Linked DNA regions of Homo sapiens: all the other regions are linked to region 1. The links are contacts of gene promoters, found by promoter capture Hi-C in blood cells and fetal thymus (Javierre and others, 2016). All regions are on one chromosome and are shown on one strand. Each heading gives the region's core, a stretch centred on a gene start or on the middle of the fragment in contact. The rest is flanking DNA. Distances are from core to core; before and after follow the strand shown. Region 1 holds the start of FAXDC2 (fatty acid hydroxylase domain containing 2). Region 2 has its middle 28 kb from the start of MIR1303. Region 3 has its middle 41 kb from the start of MIR1303. Region 4 has its middle 20 kb from the start of MIR1303. Region 5 has its middle 11 kb from the start of MIR3141. Region 6 has its middle 8.9 kb from the start of MIR1303.

Region 1 (3,082 bases), core at 548-3,047:
AAAATATAAAAATTAGCCGGGTGTGGTGGTGCACGCCTGTAATCCCAGCTGCTCTGGAGGCTGAGACAGGAGAATCGCTTGAACCTGGGAGGCGGAGGTTGCAGTGAGCCAAGATCATGCCACTGCACTCCAGCCTGGGCGCCAGAGCAAGAGTCTGTCTCAAAAAAACAAAAAAAAACAAAGATGAAATGCGGCTGGGCACGTTGGCTTATGCCTGTAATCTCATAACTTTGGGAGGCCGAGGTGGGTAGATCACCTGAGGTCAGGAGTTGGAGACCAGCCTGGCCAACATGGTGAAACCCCATCTCTACTAAAAATACGAAAATTAGCTGGGTGTGGTGGCGGGCACCTGTAATCCCAGCTACTTGGGGGGCTGAGGCAGGAGAATCTCTTGAACCCAGGAGGTGGAGGTTGCAGTGAGCTGAAATCGCGCCACTGTACTCCAGCCTGGGTGACAGAACGAGATTCCATCTCAAAAAACAAAAAAAACAAAAACAGAAGATGAAATGCATGAAAGGAAAGGTTAAAAATGATTCCCATGGGCCAGTTTTAGTAATACTCTCTTCACTCCTTTTGCTGCATGGTACTTGCACCCTTTGAGCTTACTGTTCTGCTTGATTGCATGTCCATGAGGCCGAGAATCTGCCTGTCTTGTTTACCACGAGATCCACAGAATCAAGCCCAAGCCTGGCATGTAGAAGATACTCAAGAAAGATTTGCCGAATAAATAAGAGATACACGAATCAAAAGCATTGCTTTTTGCCCTCAAAAAGTGTTCAACATTTGCTATGGAACATTTTAGCACCATTCCCTTGTGCTAATTACTTTCGTAACTAAAGTTAGAAGCTGATGCTCAGTGCATCTGTGTTTTAGCAAATTGAATTGAATCTGTATATCCCACTCAAAGAAATTTAATTGGAATTGCACATGAAACTGAAGCAACCCACAAATCAGCATCTTGTCTTGCTTGCCTTAAGCCCCAGAAGGTCCTGAAAGCCACTGTTCTATTGTTCATCTCCACCTACACACTTTACTGTATGCCCTTTACTCAATAACCTTCGTGGAGTGTTTCCATAGGTACTATCAAGCCACTAACGATTTCACAACTGGAGCCACTGTTGGTAAATCCAAGTATGTTGCATCAAAACAGTTTCAACCTACTTGTCTAGCTCATAGCCCACACATCTATCCAGAGACTTTAAAACTGTTGTATTTTGCCCCATACCTTCCTGGTGATGGCAGAGTAGAGATGAGAAGCAATTAGGCAGCAGTTGCTTCCCAACAGTCTCTTCCAGTTTGTTCTGCCTCTCATTTGAGTTCTGAATTAGGAGTTGCTCCTTTACAAATGGTTTTAAAGTCAAACAATTACTTGTCCATTACAATCACCTGTCAATTGCTAGAAAAATTAGACTACTGAGGAGGTAGATGGTACAAACACAGGCAGAGGATACAGACATTAGTAAGAGACAAGGAGGCGACTGCACTACAGCAATGTCCTAGGACAAATTCTAACCCTGCCATCTAACCCTGTTTAGAGGCAAATCTAACCCTGCCATAAGTAGAGAGGACAGGGTGGTGGCAGAGGTGGGAAGAGTGTTGTTTTGCCCTTACTTTAAGTGAACCTGGACATGTCCTGACCTTTGCAAACACCACCCCTCCCCCGTAGTTCCCACTTACCTCTGCAGTGGGCTGTGTCCAAGCTGCTGAGGTCCTTGCACAGGTCAAATCTAAGTTCTCTTCCCTTTCAGCCCCCGCTTTGGTGGCTGTTGCTGCTGCGGCTCTGCTGCAGGCTAACCTTGTTTTTGCTCGGGTGGGAGGCTGGCCATGGTGATCTCATTACAGAGCTGCGTACTGGCTCGGACCAGGCACGTGATGAAAAAAGTTTGGGTCTGTGTGGGCTGGAAACAAAACACCCTTCTTTCCAGAGGGCATGTCCTTAAAGCGGAAAGGGAATCTAAGCTCAAGCAGGAACTTGAAAAACGTGCATTTGGCCAAACTCTGGGCTTCCCTCCCCCTGCCCCCTTTTTTTCTTTTAAAAAATTTTCTCCATCATCTGCAACTTAAGAAAATGTCGCTGTCCCATAGGAGGAGGCAGATTCAAGAAAAGATGTGGGTGTCAGATAATGGCAGGTAGTACAAGTTGATAAAAAGGTGACAGAGACCAGAGGATCTCATTTTCTTTTTTTTCATTGCTTCTTTTCCTGTGGAGGGCAGGCAAGGGAGGAGAGATGCATCAGCTATTTCTAGTGAGTCTAGATGCAGGAAAGGCATGCCTGTGGAGGGTAAATTTGCACTGTGATTGAAATAGGGGAACTTAGGATACAGGACCCATGACATGAAGTGAGGAGCACTTTGGAAAAAGAGCTGCTTTTAAATTTCTGAAAACTTTTTAAATAAGCAAATGTGCAAATGATATAAAATACAATAGGGTCAAAAGAATGTACAATGAAAAGTCTTTTTTTAATTTCTCCTCAGTCCCCTTTTTTTCCTCCCAAGAGACAACCTCTGTGACCAGATTTTTGTATATCCTTCCAGAGCTTACCTCTGTAAATAGAAACATGTGTAGGCCTTGTGCTTCTCCTTTAGCAACAGCACCATAGTATGTTTGTTGTGCACCTTGCTTTTTCCACTTAACAATCAAACATGGAGATTGGCTAGGCATGGTGGTGCTCACCTGTAGTCCCAACTATTTGGGAGGCTGAGGTTGGAGGATCACTTGAGCCCAGGTATTTGAGACCAGCCTGGGCAGCACAGGAAGACTCCTTTCTAAAATAAACAAAACTCAGAAACTTGGCTGGGCACGGCGGCTCACATGTATAATCTCAGCACTTTGGAAGACCAAGACGGGAGGATCACTTGAGGCCAGGAGTTCAAGACCAGCCTGGGCAATGTAGCAAAACCCCATTTCTACTACATATACAAAAAATTAGTAGAGCTTACTGGCACATGTCTGTTATCCCAGCTACTGGGGAGGCTGAGGTGGGAGGATGGCTTGAGCCCAGGAGTTGGAGGCTGCAGTGAGCTATGATTGTGCCCTGCACTCCAACCTGAGTGACAGAGTGGGACCCTGTCTCTAAAAAAC
Region 2 (3,389 bases), core at 701-3,200, 140 kb before region 1:
TGGCTTGTTTATATCTAGATCCCCTCTCTCCAGAATGTAAACTCAATAAAAGTAAGGTTCTTGACTTTCTTGTTCATTGATATGTCCCTAGGAACTAAAACAGAGCCTGACACATAATAGCTGCTGAATAATAATGCCTTTTGAATAATGAATGCCTGATAAATGACTGGATGAGCTATATAATCTCCAAAGTCTCTTTCAGCTTTAAACCCAAGATTATATACTCATTATAGTGAGTAGAGGATCACTAGCATGACTATACCATGCTACAGATGTGGAAACTGAGGCAGTGAGTGACTTGCCAAAGGCTTTGCAAACAGGAAAGTGGTGTGGTCCAACAGAACCGTATGGGAAGTCAAAAGCAGGAGACTCGGGTTTGGATCCTCACACCATCCCTCTCTGTCGACCTTCCTTGCAAGGGCTGTGTGAACTGGACAAGCCACTTCACCCCTCCAAGGACTCAGTTGTTCCACTGAAAAGAGAAGATGTACTAATAACTCTGCCCCAGGGTCACTGTGAGATCATGTAGTCTGAACCGCACTAAGCACTTTGCAGAGTGTTTTGCTCTTCCTTTAGCCCCAGCTTGTTTTCCAGGGTGGAGAGTGGAGGTGAGGAAGGAAGCCCAGGACCAGGGCTGTGGAGGAGGGGAGACTCAGCGGGTTGCCACCATTTGTTTACTCACCTGAGTCTCTCTGCCTCTAGCCTAGCTGTGCTCCCCGCTAAGGTAAAGAGGTGGGGTAGCCTTGCTCGGCCAATGAGCTGCCGTCGCTCTCTTAAAGGCACCCAGCGTCTGGAAGGAAAACTAGCCTGGCAACCTGGAGAGCTCCCGGGCCAGAGCCAGGAGGCAGCTGTGCGATCTGGATGTACCTAAACCCTCCAGGGCCACATAGTGACCCCAGGCCCTGGTCACTCCATGCTTTGGAGGGTGCTTTTGTCAAAGAGGCCTCCTTTCCCTCACCCAGAGCTGGATTTCCAAGAGGCTCCCATACCTAGCTGCCCTGGCAGACTCCCAGGGAGGAAAAACAGCGTGGCCTTGGCAGCTGCCCCGAGGAAGGAGCCCACAGGTGACAGGGAGAAGCCATTGCCATTCCCTGTCCTGGCCCCCTTCAGCAACCCTGGTGAGTCCTAGCACTCTGCGTTTCTTGAACCTCAGGACAGCAGGGTGTGGTAGGAAGATCCTTCTCCCTAGGGGCAGAAACCTTGGGTGCTGGTTCCAGCCCTGCTGTGTGACCCTGAGCGAGTCACTCCAGCTCTCTGAACCTCACATTCCCCATCTGGGAAAATGAGGAGCTCAAATTCCACTCTCAGCTTTCCTCTTCTATTGTTTTCCCTTGTCACACCCCTTGTTCTGAAAGATTTAAGTCTGTCAGCTGCACCTGTTACATAATAATTTGTTAATTGGTTTTCCTCTTCTATGTGAATTGTGGCCCTGTAATAGCCAATCAGTGTTTTTTGGTTAGCAGACACAAACCACTAAATTGATGCAGGTTTAGCCAAAAGCAGTGTAGTATTTTATTCTGTCTGTGAGATCTTATCTAGAGTCGATATTTGATTTTCATTTGACCTTTTGAAATATGAGAAATAGAGCATTTGTGAGTAATTTCCAGGGAATGGGGTCCCCAGGTGGGGAACTCCTAGATCTAGTTTGCATGGGGTTTATAAGGACACCAGCAAAATCCTGCCTTCACGCCCAAGCTGAGCTTTGGTCTCTGCAGTGCTGCCTCACACACAGGGTTCATTCTTGAAAGTGAAAGCTTTGGACTTAAAAATTTCCTATGTGGAGAGACTGCTCCCAGGAGTCCCCACAGTGAGTTTACCCCACCTCTAGCTGGCTGAGGCTAGGGAAGCCTGGTTGGGGGAGCTGAGGTCTCCCTCAGCCCTCTGTTAGGGTGTGGCCAGGAGAGTGATGGGAACAGGTAGGTATGAACACAGGGCCTGGAGGCCAGGAATATATGGTAGATACCGCTTGTGCTGAAAATCAGGAGCTAGGCCTGCAGTTCTGGTTCTGCACTGACTAGCTCTGTGACCTCAGGCAAATTGTTTACCTCTTTGAACTCAGTTTTCCCAGCTGCAAAATGGGGATTGTAATCTGGGCAATGCTTGCCTACCAGGATTGTTCTTATGACCAAACAAAGTCTGTTCCATGGAAGCTTAGATTCCACAGATTTTAAGATAAATTCAGATTTAAAAATACATTTTGGGATTGATGAGGTAAGGTAATGAATGTTTTGTAAAATGCGGCCTCTGTAGTAATTATTTTCTCCAATCACTGTGTGATAATAATTAATGTGATAAAAGAATTACTGATTATGATGGAATCGTGGCTGCTTGTTTAAATCCTTTTACTTTAAAAAAATACCATTTACTGGGACTTTTTGAAATGTACAATCATATAAACAAAAAGAAAGGGGAAATAGCTCACTGAGTCATGGTATTTTCTAACGACTCGTGGGATGGGAACCCAGTCCTGGAATGTGGCCCCATTGGAAGCAGCAGGATAATACAATGGTTAGAACAGGCATGTTGGAGTAGAGGATCTTGGGCTCAAATATATACTGTAAGACCTACTGATGACCCTGGGTGTAAGTCACTTTTCTTTTCAAAGCCCCTTCTGTGCAGTCACTTGAGCTTCAGCCACCCTGTTCTCTCCTTTCCTGCAGCTCCCTGCTGAGTAAATAAATCTCAGAGAATGTTGGTTTCAAGGGTTGTGGCAGCACCCTCTCTCGGGGTAGAGCCTATGGTAGAAGGAGTGGAGTGAAAGTGAAAGCCAAAACAGTTTCTAGGAATAGGGAACTCAGGCAGGTATTTGAGTAACAATGTGTGTGAGCGTTGTGTGCGTATACGCATGTGTGCATGTGCACAGGAGCTAATGAAATTAAAAATGAAGCCGGGTGCGGTGGCTCACGCCTATAATCCTAGCACTTTGGGAGGCTGAGGCAGGCAAATCATGAGGTCAGGAGTTTGAGACCAGCTTGGCCAACATGGTGAAACTCCGTCTCTACTAAAAATACAAAAAAATTAGCTGGGCGGAGTGGTGGGCACCTGTAATCCCAGCTACTCAGGAGGCTGAGGCAGGAGAATCGCTTGAACCCGGGAGGCAGAGGTTGCAGTGAGCCGAGATCACGACACTGCACTCCAGCCTGGGCGACAGAGCGAGACTCTGTCTCAAAAAAAAGAAGAAATTAAAGTTGAAGATTTTAAGGCCCCTGAAGGGTCATGTTAGCCAGTCCCCTGCTCTGGGGCAAGCCTCTCTTTTTTTTTTTTTTTTTTTTTGAGTCAGTTTCACTTATTGCCCAGGCTGGAGTGCAATGGCTTGATCTCGGCTCACCGCAACCTCCGCCTCCCGGGTTCAAGCGATTCTCCTGCCTCAGCCTCCTGAGTAGCTGGGA
Region 3 (3,031 bases), core at 364-2,863, 210 kb before region 1:
TTGATTATAGTCAACAATTTTGCATTGACCGAGCCATTACAGACTCTGCTACATTTTTACAATGTGAACTTTCCATTCCTTTCTTGAACTCTGTTCCTGCCTCTTCTTCACAATCTATTACACAGCTCTCAGGGGCATCAGAAACTGAAACACTATCTTCTTCTATTTGAAACGGTTCTAAAGTTGCTTTAATAATGGCCCAGTCATTCCATACTGTAAGTGGGATGATTTTACCTTCCCTACTTGCTTGTTTTAATTCTTTGCCAATTTTTTCCCAATCTTTTAAATATAAAGTTCCCTGTTCTGGAAACCATGGGCAGAATTGTTCTATTGTTTGAAATAGCATAATTAGATTTTCTGTAGAAGCTTTAACTCCCCCTCTTCTTAAGATAATTTTAATGAAGCTGAGATAAGAGGCATATTTACTTTCAGCTTGCCCCATTGTTACCCTGGATTCCTCCGAGCACACAAGCTTACCGCAAGGTTGACCGTGGACATACTTGGGAATCTCTCATCAGCTGTTCTCAATGTTCACGTTCTTAGCATACCTTCACCCTAGAGAAAGGCCCCAGATTGGGCGCCAGATGAAGGGGTGGCCCGCCCCTCCACACCTGTGGGTATATCTCACCAGGTGGGACAAGAGACTGAGAAAAGAAATAAGACACAGAGGCAAAGTATAGAGAAACAACAGTGGGCCCAGGAGACCGACACTCAGCATACGGAGGGCCTGCACCAGCACTGGTCTTTGAGTTCCCTCAGTTTTTATTGATTATTATTTTCATTATTTTAGCCAAAGGAATGTGGTAGGAGAGCAGGGTGATAATAAGGAGAAGGTCAGCAAAAAAACATGTGAGCAAAAGAATCTATGTCATAATTAAGTTCAAGGAGAGGTACTATGCCTGGATGTGCACATAGGCCAGATTTATGTTTCTCTCTGCCCAAACATCTCAGTGGAGTAAAGAATAACAAGGCAGCATTGCTGCCAACATGTCTCGTCTCCCACCATAGGGTGGTTTTTCTCCCATCTCAGAATTGAACAAATGTACAATCAGGTTTTATACCGAGACATTCGGTTCCCAGGGGCAGGCAGGAGACAGTGGCCTTCCTCTATCTCAAGTGCAAGAGGCTTTCCTCTTTTACTAATCCACCTCAGCACAGACTTTTTACAGGTGTCGGGCTGGGGGACGGTCAGGTCTTTCTCATCCCACGAGGCCATATTTCAGACTATCACATGGGGAGAAACGTTGGACCATACCCAGCTTTTCAGGACAGAGGTCCCTGTGGCTTTTCACAGTGCATTGTGCCCCTGGTTTATTGAGACTAGAGAATGGCGATGACTTTTACCAAGCATAGTGCCTGTAAACATTTTGTTAACAAGGCACATCCTGCACAGCCCTAGATCCCTTAAACCTTGATTCCATACAACACATGTTTTTGTGAGCTCAAGGTTGGGGCAAAGTGGCTGGGGCAATGTTACAAATTAACAACATCTCAGCAAAGCAATTGTTTAAGGTACAGGTCAAAATAGAATCTCTTATGTTTTCCTTTTCTACATAGATACAGCAACAGTCTGATCTCTCTTTCTTTTCCCTAAAAGTAATGATTTTATATTGATTACATGTTAAAATGTAATATTTTTATATAGTAGATGAAATATCTTATTAAAATTACTTTCACTTGTTTGCTTTTATGATTCCTAATGTGGTTATTAGAATATTTAAAATTACATTTGTGATTGCCTTTATATTTCCCTTGGACAGTATTTTAGAGAATGCAGTGGTGAGAGGAACCAGCCTCCCTGAACTTGAGGTCATGGCCCTGTGACTTAGACCAGGCCTCTCATCCTCTCTGAACTTTGGTCGCTTTGTGTTAAAAAAAAAAAAAAAAAAAAAAAAAAACAGAGATAAATCTGCCCCTGTACATCCTCTCAGTGCTATTGTGAGAATCAAATCAAATAATGCACACAAAGCTGTTTTATAGGCTGTAAGAATAATTAAGAGCAACAATTGCGTATTTTTAGCTTTTGCTAGGAGCCAGGCTCAGTGCTAAGTGACTCCACGCATTTCTCTCACAGGCCCTATGAGGCAGGTACCAGTACTACTCCCATTTTGCACATGAGGAAACTGAGTCTGAAAGAGGCTGAGTGACCTGCCCCTTGGCCCACAGCCAGAATGTGGCACTGCCAGGATCCCAAATCAGGCTGACTGAGTCGAGTGCCCACATCCTCAACCCACAGCACACCAAAGGGAAAAAAAAAAACAAAAACCAACCTACCTACTGAGATTTGAAAAGCCAAACCCCAGGCAGGCCGCAGTGGCTCATGCCTGTAATCCTAGAACTTTGGGAGGCCAAGGCGGGCGGATCACCTGAGGTTGGGAGTTCGAGACCAGCCTGGACAACATGGTGAAACCCCGTCTCTACTAAAAATACAAAAAATTAGCCAGGCATGGTGGTGGTCACCTGTAGTCCCAGATACTCAGGAGGTTGAGGCAGGAGAATCACTTGAGCTGGGGAGGTGGAGGCTGCAGTGAGCTGAGATCACTGTCACTGCACTCCAGCCTGGGCAACAAGAGTGAAACTACAACTCAAAAAAAAAAGAAAGAAAAGAAAAGCCGGACCCCAACTCCCAATCGATCTCAGAATCACAGACATCTGCCCACAGTTTTGCAGGTACTGGAGTGCTCTGCTGAGGAGGGTCAGCTGTGGGTCCATCCACACTCCAGCTAATAAGCCTGGGCAGGCCTGTCAACCTCTCTAAGCTTCCTCTAAAGAGTTAAAGCACTCACCCTCTGCTGGTAATTAAATGAGATAATGCCTAGAAAAGTGTTAGCACAAACCGGGCATGGTGGCTCACGCCTGTAATCCCAGCACTTTGGGAGGCCGAGGCAGGTGGATCAACTGAGGTCAGAAGTTCAAGACCAGCCTGGTCAACATGGTGAAACCCCGTCTCTACTAAATACACAAAAATTAGCCGGGCATGGTGGCCGGCACCTGTAATCCCAGCTACTCAGGAGGCTGAGGCAGGAGAATC
Region 4 (2,959 bases), core at 204-2,703, 180 kb before region 1:
GGCTTTGAGGCCTCTTTCCCATTGTCTTGGATATTAACACCTGGCTGCCTTTTAGTCATGTTGATCTCTGTAGCAAGTGGTTACTCCACAGCCTACTTGGATTCTTTCTCCACCACTGGGCCAGGCTGCAAATTTTTCGAACTTTTATGCTCTACTCTTCTTTTAAAAATAAATTCCAACTTTGTTATTTCTTTGTTCCCATATCTCATTTAGATTATTAGAAGTGGCCAGACCACATCTTGAATGCTTTGCTGCTTAGCAATTTCTTCCACCAGATACCAGAGGTCGTCACCCTTAAGTTCAAACTTCCAAAGAGCCCTCAGACATGGACACAATGCTCCAAGTTCTTTGTTAGGTCATAAAACGGGTGTCCTTTACTCCAGTTCCTAATAACCTCCTCATTTCTTTGCTTTTTTTTTTTTTTTTTTTTTAGTTTTGCTGTTGTCGCCCAGGCTGGAGTGCAGTGGCACGATCTCGGCTCACTGCAGCCTCCACCTCCCAGGTTCAAGTGATTCTCATGCCTCAGCCTCCCTAGTAGCTAGGATTACAGGCACGCACTACCATGCCCGGCTAATTTTTGTATTTTTAGTAGAGATGGGGGTTTCACCATGTTGGCCAGCCTGGTCTCAAACTCCTGACCTCAGGTGATCTGCCCACCTCAGCCTCCCAAAGTGCTGGGATTACAGGCATGAGCCACTGTGCCCTGCCTAACTTCCTCATTTCTATCTTAGACCTTGTCAGCCTGGCCTTCACTGTCCATGTTACTATCAGCATTTTGGTCAAAATCATTTGTCTTCTCATCTTCTTGTCTTCTTCTGAGCCCTCCAAATTCTTTCAACTTCAGCCTGTTACCCAATTCCAAAGTCACTTCCACATTTTCAGATATCTTTATAGTAACACCCTACTCCTGGTACCAATTTTCTGGGGTTTTTTTTGTTTGTTTGTTTTTTGTTTTTTGTTTTTTGTTTTTTTGTTTTTTTTTTTTTGACATGGAGTTTCACTCTTGTTGCCCAGGCTGGAGTGCAATGGCATGATCTTGGCTCTCTGCACCCTCCACCTTCTGGGTTCAAGTGATTCTCCTGCCTCAGCCTCCCGAGTAGCTGGGATTACAGGTGTGAGCCCCCACGCCTGGCCTCTGGTATCAATTTTCTGTGTTAAGCCATTGTCATATTGCTATAAATAAATACCTGAGGCTGAGTAATTTATAAAGAAAAGAGTATTAATTGGCTCACAATTCTGCAGGCTGTACAAGAAGCATAATGCCAGCAACTCCTTCTGGTGAGGCCTCAGGAAGCTTACAATCATGGTGGAAGGCAAAGGGGGAGCAGGTACATCACAGGGCAAGAGTGGGAGCATGAGAGAGAAGGGGGAGGTCCCAGACTCTTTGAAACAACCAGATCTTACATGAACTAAGAGGATGGTGCTAATCCATTCATGAGGCATCTGCCTCCATGATCCAATCACTTTTCATGAGGCCCCACATCCAACATTGGGAATTATATTTCAATATGAGATTTGGCAGGGACAAACGTTCATACCATATCATTTGGGGAGGTGAGATTCACTCTAGGCTGGTCAAGAAATAGTAGAGAAATAGTACATACATATAGAAAAAGCTTCACATTGGGGTCACCTGGGCTGGGCTTCTAGCCCCTGCAAACTCTCTGTGAGGCAAGGCCTGCAGCCTCACAGCACCTCAGTTATCACATCTGTGAAATGGGTGGGTTGAACTCTTGCTTGACGGTGTTCTTGCTAGAAGTGGAAAATCTCTAGGCATCCAGGCCTCCTTTTCCTTTCTCTTCTTACCTGGAAGGCAGCAAGAGGTGGTGGGGAGAACACTAAACAGGGGAAAGGACTAAACTGGGAGCTGTGCAGCCTCATTCTGGCTCTGCCAACATCCTGGGTGACCTCAAGCAAGTTCCTCTTTCTCTCTGAGCCTTGGCTCCCAGGAATTTGAAACATGCACAGCCTGGTCGAGCTCAGAGCTGGCTTCTGCCTGCCCTTAAAATCTGATGGCTGGTCAGGGATTCAGTATTCATTGGATTCTCAGGGCCTCATGTGCTAGGCTGAAATGCTATCCCCATACCTCCTTGTTCCTTGTCAGAGGGCCAGACTGTACACTATTCACTCAACAAATCTTTATTCAGTACCTCCTATTTCCAGGCCACAGGGCAGACTGGAGCCCAGAAGAGAGAAAAAACAGGTATTCTCAATTATCTATATTCCATGCCACTTAATCAGGATTCCATAAATATTCACTTGGAGTTCAGAGCTAAGCTGTGGAAAAGAAAGGAGTCAAGTGTAGACTTTTTCCTAAGAGGAGCTTGAGACCTCAAGAAGAGAAGGCATTTGTTCATTCATTCACTCACTCACTCTTTCATTCATTGAACAAATACTTATTGAGCACTTACTCTGTACTCGGCCCTGTGATTTGTACAAAACAGACACAGGCTCTGTTCTCAAAGAAAATTCAGTCTAGGCCCGGCACGGTGGCTCATGCCTGTAATCCCAGGACTTTGGGAAGCTGAGGCAGGTGGATCACCTGAGTTCAGGAGTTCGAGACCAGCCTGGCCAACATGGTGAAACCCGGTCTCTACTAAAAATACAAAAAATTAGCCAGTTGTGGTGGCGCACACCTGCAATCCCAGCTACTCAGGAGGCTGAGGCAAGAGAATCGCTTGAACCTGGAAGGCAGAGGTTGCAGTGAGCAGAGATCGTGCCACTGTACTCCGGCCTGGGCAACAAGAATGAAACTCTGTCTCAAAAAAAAGAAATTTCAGTCTAGTGGAAGAAGCAGACCTGAAAGAGATAAACACACCATTACAAATATTATTACACATTGTGATGGCTTACATTTTAAAAATGGTATGAGAGGCTGGGCACAGTGGCTCATGCCTGTAATCCCAGCACTTTGGGAGGCCGAGGCAGGTGGATCACTTGAGCCCAGGAGTTTGAGAAC
Region 5 (3,097 bases), core at 256-2,755, 240 kb before region 1:
CACATGGATATGTCTAACCTCAAAGGGGACAGGACAGTATAATCCTACCTTGCGCCGGGAAGGAGGAGGAAAATGACTTCCACATGCCCCACAGTCCAGGGGGAGAGGCGTAAATAGGGTAAACCACAACTCTGATGGAGTTAAGTCCTTACTGTGTTACAGGAACACAGAGGAGAAGCAACTTTATTGGGAGGCCTAGGGGGGCCTTCATTGCCCAGGTGACCTGTGAGCCTAGCATGGAGATCAGGGGTTATTAAGTTGGGGTCCAAGGATCCATAATTGCATGGCTGGCCTTCAGGGACCCAAAACTTCCTGAAACTTCAAAATCTTGGATGTAGGTGAGTTTATGCATTTTCGCAAGAAGAAAGTCCTTAACTTTCATTATCTAAGACTTGGGCTGCCAGATGGTCACTACGTCTTTCTTCTGACTTTTGTCTTTCTATTATAGTGTACCATATCTTAAAGTGCAATGCTCAAACCACCCGCAGCAGACAATCTAGACAGTTGTCAAAAATGCATAGCCCAAGGCCCAGCTCTGACCAACTGAATTGGAATCTCTGGGGGTGGTTCCAATCTGCATTTTAACAAGCTTCCCAGGTAGCCCTCATACATCTTGAAGTCTGTGGTTCTCTCAGCCAGAGATAGCACTCTCCCAGCCCAGTTAGGCTGTGAAGAAAGCACAGAGAGAGCTGAGCCACACGGTTGAGAAGAATCCTCCAAGGCCAGAGAGCACTTTACAGTTTCCAGAGGGCCACCACCTCGTGCCTTATCCAACCTCACTGCAGAACGGTGGAGTGGAGGTGCCAGCTCTCCACTGGCACAAAAGAGGTGCTCAATGAATATCACCTAGCGAAATGACAGGAAATGAAAAGAGAGCCAAACAAGACAGGATGGCCTAAAAATGACATGCCCTGAAATCAGACCACCCTGAGTTCAAATTTCAGTCTTGCCAGTTCCTAGTTGGGTAATCTCGGACAAGTTACCCTACCTCTCAGGACCTCAGCTTCCTTGTCTGTCATCAGGAATGTGTCTTTCTTCCCTCTAGGACTGTGTTGGCACACAGCACAGCTTCTCTAAAGGTCACCAGAAGGATCCTAAGTGCTTTAATAATTCTCGTGTCAGGCCTCCTCAACTCCATTCTAGAGGTGAGGGGAGGGAGTCCTGGAGATGGCTCCCCTAGAAGCACTAGAAGCATGATTCATGCCCTGGCAAAGCCCGTCCCCACCAAGCCCTGGGTCTTGTCCTCGTCTTCCCAGAGTCATGCTGGCCAGAGCTGAGACTCCATGCTATCATGTGAGCAGTCAGCCCTAGACACTCACATTCACCCCTGCCAGGAAAAGGGGATTCCTTTGTCCCTGATAACTCCTGGGGACCCACCCTGGCACAGGTAGGCAGACCCCCAGGAGGCAAGGCTGATGGTTAAATCAGGGGTTCCAGCCCACCTGTGCTGAAGAAGAACCTGGAAAGTGTGTTCAATGCCCAAATTTCTGGTCCCACCCCTGGCAATTCTCATTCTGCAGCTTTGGATTAGAGCCCAGGGATGGCATTTTAACAAATTCCCAGGGATTCTGATCTTCAGCCAGATCCCGGAGCCGCTGCTCTGACCTCCAGGTGGTTTAGAATGTGTGGTTTGGGGGCCAGGCGCAGTGGCTCATGCCTGTAATCCCAGCACTTTGGGAGGCTGAGGCAGGCAGATCACCTGAGGTCAGGAGTTCAAGACCAGCCTGGCCAACATGTAAGACCCCGTCTCTACTGAAAATTCAAAAATTAGCTGGGCGTGGTGGCAGGCGCTGGTAATCCCAGCTACTGGAGAGGCTGAGACAAGAGGATTCCTTTATTTTCTTTTTTTAATTTTTTGAGACGGAGTCTCACTCTGTCACCCAGGCTGGAGTGCAGAGGCGTGATCTCGGTTCACAGCAAAAGGAGGATTGTTTTAACCCAGGAGGCAGAGGTTGCGGTGAGCCAAAACTGCACCATTGCACTCCAGCCTGGGCAACAAGAGCAAAACTCTGTCTCAAAAAAAAAAAAAAAAAAAAAAACAATGTGTGGTTTGGAATGTCTGGTAGGCAGATGGAATCCTGGCCACCCAGGATCCTGTCCCCAACAGGGATGCTGCTTCATGCTAAGCCCTTTCCCTCTGCAGGTTGCCACCAGCCCGCCCATCTCCACCATGCCCTATGCTACCCTTCCTTGTGGCCTGAGCCTGGTGGTGGGAGCAGGTCTGCAAGGAGAAGGCACAACTGGATTTTTAGATGGATTGGGTGGTAGAATGAGTTCTGGGCTGGGGGATAAGAAATCCCAGCAGAAACCCTTCTGTTTTCTATATCCCTTTCAGGCTCTCAGAGCCTCAACTTCCTCATCTGTATACAGGGCTTATTCCCCTGATGGAAAATTAGAGATGGACACTTACCATGGAGCTAGTGAAGCTTAGGTCTCAGGGGACCTCATGTACACATGGCTCTTCTAAAGCCCTGCACCTAATTTTGTTTTCTCTTCCTTAAACAGGGGCCCATAAAATCCACACCAGGCCCTGACTGTAAGAGTGGCTATGAAAATGCCAAATGAGGGATAAAACCAGAGGGCTTTCACCTAGGGAACTCACCACCTCCAAAAGGGGAAGAGAGCCCTCCTAAGGTGCTCCTGGAGCTCCCCTCCTCACCAGCTTTGGTTTCTCCACTTTCCTACCGGATGAGTCCTGCCTCTTCCTGCCTGGGAGTTTATCAGCAGGGAGTGGCAGGGCCTGCTAATCAGGGGCTGCTCCAGGCCCCCGGGATTAACCCTGCAGACCCTGGGCCAGGGTCAGCAGCCCCGGCTACCAGTTATGCTCCCGGGTTCTCATCTGTGGATTAGATTGCTGGGGAGGGAGGAAGGGGAACTTTAGGGAGGGACTCACTGGCAGCCAGAGAGATTAAAACTAAATGAGAATACCTCACTCTCCTACTTAGAACCCTTCAGGGGGCTGCCTCTGCGTCTAAAATGAAACCCAGACCTTGCCCCACCCATCGGGCCCTGCCCTCCTCTTTGATCTCAGCCCTGGCTGTGGGGTGCTCCAGCTTCGCCTGCCTGCCTTCCTTCCCTTTCAGACCCCTTCCCTCCT
Region 6 (3,037 bases), core at 100-2,599, 160 kb before region 1:
TGAGACGGGGTCTCACTCTGTTGCCCAGGCTGGAGTGCAGTGGCATGATCTCGGCTCACTGCAGCCTCAAACTGTTGGGCTCAAGCAATCCTCCCACCTCAGCCTCCTAAGTAGCTGGGACCACAGGCATGAGCCACCACGCCCTGCTAATTTTTTATTTCGTTGTAGAGACGGATTTTGCCATGTTGCCCAGGCTCACAAGCAGGTTTCTAAAGACAAAAAAAGAATAGGGAGAGGGCTATTACAGAGTTGTGTGTCAGGAATTCTCATTGGTTTACAGAAATAACATTGGTTCGTGATTGGCCTGGCAAGCAGTTTTAAGAGATGAATACATAGCTTAAAGTGGGATGTAGGACTGATTACTGTCTCATTTATTAATTTAAAAGGACTTGAATTGCCCAGATGAAAGTTCTTTTCTCGACTGGGCGCGGTGGCTCACACCTGTAATCCCAGCACTTTGGGAGGCCGAGGCGGGCGGATCACGAGGTCAGGAGATCAAGACCATCCTGGCTAACACAATGAAACCCCGTCTCTACTAAAAAATACAAAAAATTAGCCGGGCGTGGTGGCGGGCTCCTGTAGTCCCAGCTACGCGGGAGGCTGAGGCAGGAGAACGGCGTGAACTGGAGAGGCGGAGCTTGCAGTGAGCCGAGATCGCGCCACTGCACTCCAGCCTGGGCGACAGAGCAAGACTCCGTCTAAAAAAAAAAAAAAAAAAGAAAGAAAGTTCTTTTCTCACCCCTAATAGGATGGAGTAGACTACATAGCTCCACCTATTTTGGCTCCTGTGAAAAATATTGAGCCTGAATCTAATGAGGCCTATAAGAACTAGCTTCAGTTACGAAAAGTTCAGGGGATAGAGGAACACGTTAAACAACACACAAAGAAGCAATCAGACAAAGCCAGAATGTGAAACAGTTTATAAGACAACTGCCATAATCTCTTAAAAGCCAATGTTGTAAAAACAAAAAAAAGTAATGGGGAGGAGGTTCTAGATTTAAAGAGACCTAATAGTCTAACAAGCCAAATATAAGATGTGATTCTTGATTATATCTTGATTTATTACTATAAAAAAATAAGGACCACGTTTTTATTTTTATCATATTTATTTATTTATTTTGAGACAGGGTCTCACTCTGTTGCCCAGGCCGAAGTGCAGTGGTGTGATCCTAGCTCACTGCAAGCTCAAATTCCTAGACTCAAGCCATCCTCCCTCTTCAGCCTCCCCACAGCTGGGACTATAGGTGCAAGACATCATACCTGGCCATTTTTTTTTTTTTATTTTAGTAGAGATGACATCTCACTACATTGCCCAGGCTGGCCTGGAACTCCTAGCTTCAAGCCACCTTCCCACCTTGACTTCCCAAAGCACTGAGATTACAGGTGTAAGCGACTATACCTGGCCCACCATGCTTTAGACAATGGGGAAATTTCACTATGAACTTGGTATTAGATGATATAAGAAAATTATTGCTAATTTTGTGAGACGTGTTAAGTGTATTGTTATGGAAGAGAATGATCTAATTTTTGGAAATACATGCTGAAGTGTTTAGGGTTGAAGTGTTAGAATATCTGTAATTAGCTTTAAAATGCTTTAGCCACAGATTTTATATATAGTGAGATGGAGAAAACAGTAAAATGTTGACAATTGTTGCTATGTGATTGATGTATAGGTATTTGGTTTATTGTTTTTTTTTATTTTTCTGATATTTTCAAAAGAAAAATTTTCTTTCCCTTTTTTTTGTTATTGTTGTTGAGACAGGGTTTCAACTCCTGGACTCAAGCAATCTTCCTGCCTCAGCCTCCCAAAGTGTTGGGATTACAGGCGTGAGCCACTGCACCTGGCCCAAAATAAAAAGTTTTTTAAAAAACACTTCTAGGCTGGGCACGGTGGCTCACGCCTGTAATCCCGGCACTTTTGGAGGCCGAGATGGGCGGATTACGAGGTCAGCAGATCGAGACCAATCTGGCTAACATGGTGAAACCCCGTCTCTACTAAAAATACAAAAAATTAGCCAGGCGTGTTGGTGGGTGCCTGTAGTCCCAGCTACTCGGGAGGCTGAGGCAGAATGGCGTGAACCTGGGAGGCGGAGCTTGCAGTAAGCAGAGATCGCCTCACTGCACTCCAGCCTGGGGGACAGAGTGAGACTCCGTCTCAAAAAAAGAAAAAAAAGAAAAAGCACTTCTTCAGTGCTCTAATAGCAAATTTGGGGCCCTCATTAATATCACAATATGGCTTATGCATGTAAATCCCAGTACTTTGGGAGGCCGAGGCGGGCAGATCACGAGGTCAGGAGCTCGAGACCAGCCTGACCAACATGGTGAAACCCCGTCTCTACTAAAAATACAAAAATCAGCTGGGCATGGTGGCGCGCGCCTGTAAACCCAGCTACTCAGGAGGCTGAGGCAGGAGAATCACTTGAACCTGGGAGGCGGAGGTTGTAGCGAGCCAAGATCGTGCCACTGCATTCCGGCCTGGAAGACAGAGCAAGGCTCCGTCTCAAAAAAAAGAGTTATAGACTACCCTGGCCAACATGGTGAAACCCTGTCTCTATTAAAAATACAAAAAGTAGCCAGGCGTGGTGACGCATACCTGTAATCCCAGCTACTTGGGCGGCTGAGGCAGGAGAATCCCTTGAACCCGGGAGGCAAAGGTCACAGTGAGCCAAGATCGTGCCGCTGCACTCCAGCCTGGGCGACAGAGCAAGACTCTATCTCGAAAAAAAAAAAATTACAATATATTGCTGGCATACATCACCTCCATACACGGAATCACAATATATGGAGGTGATGTACGCTAGTAGGTCTTGCCATTCAGATGACAGATTATGGGCTCCTGGGGATAGCAGCTAGGTTTAGATCAACTATATTTATCTCAGAGTGTCCAGTACATAATAAATATTCAACAAATACTCATTGAGGCTGGGCACGGTGGCTCACTCCTATAATCCTAGCACTTTGGGAGGCCAAGGCAGGGAGATTGCTTGAGACCAGGAGTTTGAGACCAGCCAGGGTAACACGGAGAAACACTTTTTCT

What was found. The method cuts DNA at HindIII sites, captures the fragments that hold promoters and counts their contacts. A CHiCAGO score of 5 or more calls a contact.
Region 2: a contact is called between a fragment that was not itself captured here and the fragment with the promoter of FAXDC2 in region 1, in 7 of 17 cell types (activated CD4 T cells, non-activated CD4 T cells, neutrophils and 4 more). The highest score is 9.1, in activated CD4 T cells.
Region 3: a contact is called between a fragment that was not itself captured here and the fragment with the promoter of FAXDC2 in region 1, in 14 of 17 cell types (activated CD4 T cells, erythroblasts, monocytes and 11 more). The highest score is 17.5, in activated CD4 T cells.
Region 4: a fragment that was not itself captured here is called in contact with the fragment with the promoter of FAXDC2 in region 1 in 12 of 17 cell types (activated CD4 T cells, monocytes, total B cells and 9 more); the score reaches 14.1 in activated CD4 T cells.
Region 5: a fragment that was not itself captured here is called in contact with the fragment with the promoter of FAXDC2 in region 1 in 1 of 17 cell types (activated CD4 T cells); the score reaches 6.7 in activated CD4 T cells.
Region 6: a fragment that was not itself captured here is called in contact with the fragment with the promoter of FAXDC2 in region 1 in 6 of 17 cell types (non-activated CD4 T cells, activated CD4 T cells, total CD4 T cells and 3 more); the score reaches 7.9 in non-activated CD4 T cells.

The regions. Positions count from the first base shown.
Region 1 is chr5:154,848,806-154,851,887 of GRCh38, forward strand. FAXDC2 (fatty acid hydroxylase domain containing 2) reads right to left here and starts at 1,798. Exons shown (of 9, transcript NM_032385.5): 1 at 1,678-1,798. The HindIII fragment of the contact is 21,500 bases long and covers 1-3,082 here.
Region 2 is chr5:154,712,013-154,715,401 of GRCh38, forward strand. It overlaps a transcript of LARP1 not described here. Among named protein-coding and RNA genes, the nearest start is that of MIR1303, 28 kb to the left of the region's middle. RefSeq lists an enhancer at 376-922. The HindIII fragment of the contact is 396 bases long and covers 1,753-2,148 here.
Region 3 is chr5:154,643,063-154,646,093 of GRCh38, forward strand. No RefSeq gene overlaps it. Among named protein-coding and RNA genes, the nearest start is that of MIR1303, 41 kb to the right of the region's middle. The HindIII fragment of the contact is 2,287 bases long and covers 471-2,757 here.
Region 4 is chr5:154,664,190-154,667,148 of GRCh38, forward strand. No RefSeq gene overlaps it. Among named protein-coding and RNA genes, the nearest start is that of MIR1303, 20 kb to the right of the region's middle. The HindIII fragment of the contact is 322 bases long and covers 1,293-1,614 here.
Region 5 is chr5:154,605,864-154,608,960 of GRCh38, forward strand. No RefSeq gene overlaps it. Among named protein-coding and RNA genes, the nearest start is that of MIR3141, 11 kb to the left of the region's middle. The HindIII fragment of the contact is 1,837 bases long and covers 588-2,424 here.
Region 6 is chr5:154,693,155-154,696,191 of GRCh38, forward strand. It overlaps a transcript of LARP1 not described here. Among named protein-coding and RNA genes, the nearest start is that of MIR1303, 8.9 kb to the left of the region's middle. The HindIII fragment of the contact is 4,028 bases long and covers 1-3,037 here.